Regions from separate parts of the Homo sapiens genome. Here region 2 is linked to region 1. Evidence: promoter capture Hi-C in human tissues and cell types (Jung and others, 2019). All regions are on one chromosome and are shown on one strand. Each heading gives the region's core, a stretch centred on a gene start or on the middle of the fragment in contact. The rest is flanking DNA. Distances are from core to core; before and after follow the strand shown. Region 1 holds the start of SCP2D1 (SCP2 sterol binding domain containing 1). Region 2 has its middle 140 kb from the start of SLC24A3.

What was found. Contacts are between HindIII fragments. The study calls those that stand out against the background at their distance.
Region 2: a contact is called between a fragment that was not itself captured here and the fragment with the promoter of SCP2D1 in region 1, in 1 of the 25 tissues and cell types used here (spleen).

Annotation. Positions count from the first base shown.
Region 1 is chr20:18,812,410-18,815,109 of GRCh38, forward strand. SCP2D1 (SCP2 sterol binding domain containing 1) reads left to right here and starts at 1,374. Exons shown (of 1, transcript NM_178483.3): 1 at 1,374-1,969. The coding sequence starts at 1,407. The coding sequence ends at 1,877. All of the region lies in intron 2 of SCP2D1-AS1 (SCP2D1 antisense RNA 1), which reads right to left. The HindIII fragment of the contact is 11,706 bases long and covers 1-2,700 here.
Region 2 is chr20:19,068,986-19,071,685 of GRCh38, forward strand. No RefSeq gene overlaps it. Among named protein-coding and RNA genes, the nearest start is that of SLC24A3, 140 kb to the right of the region's middle. The HindIII fragment of the contact is 3,871 bases long and covers 1-2,700 here.

The DNA of each region.
Region 1 (2,700 bases), core at 124-2,623:
GGTAACGATAGACAAAGATTGAAGAGCTGCCCCAGACTGCAAGGCACTAGGGAGACCTGCAACCAAATAGATATGGTCTCACATGGTCTGTAGATTAGTTAGTAGTCATGAACCAATGTGAATTTCTCAGATTAGATCACTGTACTGTGATTATATAAGATGTTAGTTTTGGGGAAAGCTGGGAGAAGGTTAAACAGGTACTATTTTTGCAAACTTTTTATAAGACTGAAATTATTTCAGAATAAAAAGTAAAGAAATAAACAGGTGGACTTTGGAGTCATTCTGCCTCTCCTCAAATCTGGCTACACTACTTACTAACTGTGTGACATTGGGCAAGTTACTTCATTTCTCCCCTCAGTTTCCTTATATGTAAAATGGGGATAAAAAGAATACCTATCTGGGAGGCCGAGGTAGGTGGATCACTTTAGCCCAGGAGTTTGAGACCAACCTGGGCAGCATGGTGAAACCCCATTTCTACAAAAAGTACAAAGATTAGCCAGGTGTGGTGGCACACGCCGTATTCCCAGCTACTTGGGAGACTGAGGTGGGAGGATCAAATGAGCCCAGGAGGCAGAGGCTGCTGTGAGCAGAGATCGCGCCACTGTACTCCAGCCTGGGTGACAGAGCAAGACCTTGTCTCAAAAAAAAAAAAAAAAAAGAAAAAATACCTATCATAGAGGGTTGTAATGAGAGTTAAATGTGTTAATACATGTGTAGTACTTAGAACTCTGCACCTTGGCCCAGAGCAAGGGCTATACTATTACGTGTAATTATCAGAGGAGACTGGCAGCATCTTCTGATCTTAGGGACATTTAATCTCTCTGTGTGTGTCTCACTGTGCTTCTGGAAAGTTTCTGATGCAGGCTCCTGGACTGATTCCTTCTCCAATCAATTACTCTGGCCTAAAAGCATTTCCCTTTCTACCAGCAGCCAGATAAAGCCAAATTCAGCACTAGGATCTGTAGTATTAACTTAAGTATTACCCACTTAATGGGACTTAAGTGTTACCTAGTTTTAGAGGAATAAGAATAACTTCTGTCTCACGTTGGGTTTCACTGAGGAGATGTCTGCATTGGAAAGACAGAGCTCATGTCACTAAAGAAGCTTCTGGGGCCAGTTTCCCTTAACCCCATTGCAGCCTGCAGACCTTTTGGGCTTGCAGGACCAACATCCCTGATTGGTTTGGGAGGGGCGTGTGTGTGTGGATCTGCCTCACAATGGCCTGTCTGAGCCCTTATCTGAGGTCACACGTTATCATTTGTTTGGCCAATAAGACTGTAGCACACACACCAGCTTCAGTCCCCACTTGGCCTTACCTTTGATGTCACAATCTGACCTGTGGGTATTAATCTGGTCACAGCTGCTCACAGACTAGATGGCAAGGTCCAGGGGACTAGCACAGGAAGATGTGGAAGAGAAGTGACCATCAACCCAAGATCAAAGCAGAGGATGGACCTCTGGTGGGCCAGTTCGAGGTTCTGGGTTCAGTTCCAGAACCTGCCATGCCACATCCTCTAGAGCTGTCAGAATTTGAGAGCTTCCCAGTGTTTCAGGACATTAGGCTTCACATCAGGGAAGTGGGAGCTCAATTGGTCAAGAAAGTCAATGCCGTCTTTCAGCTGGACATCACCAAAAATGGGAAGACCATTTTGCGGTGGACCATTGATCTGAAGAATGGTTCTGGGGACATGTATCCGGGACCTGCCAGGCTCCCAGCAGACACTGTCTTTACAATCCCGGAGTCTGTCTTTATGGAGCTGGTTTTGGGCAAAATGAACCCGCAGAAGGCTTTCCTTGCCGGAAAGTTCAAAGTGAGTGGCAAGGTTCTGCTTAGCTGGAAGCTGGAAAGGGTTTTCAAAGACTGGGCTAAATTTTAAGCATGCAAAAATACCAAGGAAGAACTTCTCTTCGATGATAATGTCGAGTGGAAATCATGCTTAATCTGAAGATTAAAGTAAAAAGTATCCAATATTTTTACTCAAATTCTTCCTATTCAAGTTTAATTGATTTTCCTGTTGATGGGTAAATTTTCAGGGAGGGTTCTGAAGCAGTAAAAAGCGTTGTAGTGCATCAATTAGAATCTTTGTCTTTTTCTCTTTTTTTAGCTCCATTTATGCCCTTTATGCTCCATTTATGCCAGGGTGAGAGCCACGTGTAAAGAAATGGGTGATTATGATCATTGGAATTAAATACTCCAATGATTGTGTTCTTGAGACATTTTTCCTTTTCTAAAAAAGTTTGATGTTTTGGGGAAAGAAGTGATAACTATCATTGTGCAGGTGTGCATTCTGCATGGTAACTTGATTCCATGAGGAAACTTTACTATGAGACTGTGGGGTGCTAAGGGAATGGGGCACCACAGGTCTGTGGGTGGAACCCAGGCAATAGAGGGGATGGTGCTGTTGGTGTATTATAATTTCTGATGGTTTCAATTCCAAGAAACTTGAAGGGCTTGGGAGGTGTTCTAGGCCAGTGGTTCTTAACTGGAGCATGCATCAGAATCACCGGAAAGGTTGGTTAAAGTCTGGATTGCTGGGCTCCATCTCAGAGCTTCTACTCAGGAAATCTGGGCTGGAGAGAATGCACATTTCTAACAAGTTCCCAGGGGATGCTGATGGCACCACCCTTAGAGAATTCCAGCTCTGCTTCACTTCATGCCAAAGCTCTCAGTATTGACTGTAACTATTCTATTCTAGGCCA
Region 2 (2,700 bases), core at 28-2,527, 260 kb after region 1:
GATCATGGAAGAGAAGTGGTATGGACTGACTGTGTCACCACAAAATTCGTATGTTGAGATCCTCAACCCCAATGCGATGGCATTAGAAGACTGGGCCTTTAGGAAGTAATTAGGTCATGAGGGTGGAGCTGTTAGAAATGGGATTAGAGCCCTTGTAAAAGGGACCCCACAGGCCAGGCATGGTGGCTCACACCTGTAATCCCAGCACTTTGGGAGGCCGAGGCAGGCAGATCACAAGGTCAAGAGACAGAGACCATCCTGGCCAACATGGCGAAACCCCGTCTCTACTAAAAATACAAAAATTAACTGGGCATGGTGGTGCACACCTGTAGTCCCAGCTACTTGGGAGGCTGACATGAGAATTGCTTGAACCTGGGAGGGGGAGGTTGTAGTGAGCCAAAAATCATGCCATTTCACTGAAGCCTGGTGACAGAGTGAGACTCATCTCAAAAAAAAAAAAAAAAAAAAAAAAAAAAAAGGGACCCCAGAGAGCTGTCTCACCCTCTTTCTGCCGTGTGCAAACAACAAGAAGTTGCCATCTATGAACCAGGAAGAGGGCCTTTGCCAGACACCGAATCTGCCAATGCCTTGATCTCGTACTTCTCAGCCTCCAGAACTGAGAAATAAATGTTTGTTGTTTAAGCCACCTAAACTATGGCATTTTTGTTGTTGCAGCAGCAACTAAGAAAAGAAAGGTCTAGAAGGCATCAAACAGAAGGCATCTGCAGAGTCCATTCTTTTGCCTCTCAACATCCCTTCTCCTCATCTGGGAAAAAATTCACAGAATATACAAAGTCCCATCAGAAACTACATCATTATGAGATAATATCAATGAGGTTACACTCCCAGGAGAAATCTGAAATGTTAGCCACTACTGGTGTCTCAATTTCCAATTCAGTAGAAACAATACTGCATTTCTAGAATAATCATTCTTCCTTTGAGTGTTTCTAAATCTGCCCAAGAACATGGTAACAGGAAGCAAAAGTTCTTCAAGTAGGATAGTAGAAGTAACAGTAAGAGGGACCATTCTTGGACTTTTGCTTGCTGGCTATAGCAGAGAGAACACTACATTTGGATGCTGGCTGAAGGCATGTTGTTTAGGGCAACACCCCAATTGCATAAAGGGTTGGCTCCCAAGCTGGTGCCATTCCTGAGTCTTCAGCAGGTCATTCCAGCACACATCAAGCCAGCCTCTGGGTGATGGGATGCATGGAAAGACTAGTGAATTCGATGTGTGTGGGCCCGTTGCCGCAGCCTCTTTGCAGTAAAATGTTTCCTGAGCAGAAGCAACATTGTGTGGGAAACCATGGCAATGGATTGTGCGTTTTCTAAGTCCAAGAACAGTAGCTCTGGCAGACGCGCTGCTGGCAGGGAGGATACATCCCTAACTGCAATATGTGTGTGTCCCTGTGAGGACAAAGTGCTGTTCCTGCCATGATGGAGGGGGCCAATGTATTCAATTTGTCACCAGATAGCTGACTGCTGCCATATTTATTATAGCACTGGTGGAAGCCGAGCAGAAGACAGAGGGTAAAGTTGCTGGTTGATGCCGCTCACACATGCCAACCTTCTGGTGGAAAGCCGAATGCAGAGAGGAGGAGAGCCACACATTGGTTCAGGAAACCCCCAAATTTAGGGCTCCTGCTCTGAGACCTCCACAAGTTTATGACGTTTTTAAACTTTCAGGCCCTTGTGGTTGCCTCTTCTCCCTCTGTCAAAACGGAGCCCTTTTGAGGATCTCTTCCATCTTGGTGGGGATGTAGGGAGCCCCTTGCTCTTTCTGGAAGAGTTTGCATTTTAGCTTTACCACTTAAAGTGTTACTGCCTGAAGTCTGGCTCATTCCTTTGTGGCCACAAAGTTGGACCCTTGGGAGCAGAGAGTGTTATTTGATTTGACATCATCTTGACTCTTGAAAACCACACACACCTGGGGTTGCTGGTCACAGAGACATTTTGGGGAAGACTGATTTGCAGCAATTCTCAGCTAATTTTCATAAAATAAGCAAAGGAGAAAGAACGTGGCTTCAGGGTCAGAAAATACTGGGTTTAAGTCAAGGCTTTGCTTTGAGAGGTTCTAAAGGGTATGACTTTGGGGAAGTTGCAAACTCTTGGGGAGATTCAACTTTCCTCTTCTGTAAGCTAGGAACCAGAGTGACTATCCCTCAGGGCTTTGAGGAAGTTAAATATGTTGTGCAGGTTGTAACACAATGAGGTTCCAGGGAGTGGTAATAATGCACCAAGAGGATTTGGTCCCACACGCTGCCTGTGATCCACCAGGCCCCCAGTAATCTCTGCATCACCCCCTGCCCCATCACCAATCCACAGAGTCAATAGTCATGTATTTTGCTAGGGGGTCTCAAGTTCTGAGCCTCAAAGAGGAAGTTGAGCATTACAAAAATAGAGGTGTTATATGGATAAAGCTGTAGCTTTCTACCTGTAAAACCCACCACATCAATCTGTGAAGATGCGGTTCATTATTCTCAGGATGATGCAATTAGTCTTAATGACCTGGCAGGCGCTTGTGAGCAATGATTCTTAATAAAGCTTTCAGGGCTAGGGTGAAAACCACCCACTGCTTGTGTCTATTCATCTCACTCCCAAGCTCGGCCATGCATACTCAGTTTGAATATGTGCTTCCTAAATCCATTTTAAGGGGAATTGTTTAGTGATTTACTATCATAGGCATCCTGGCTTATAGCT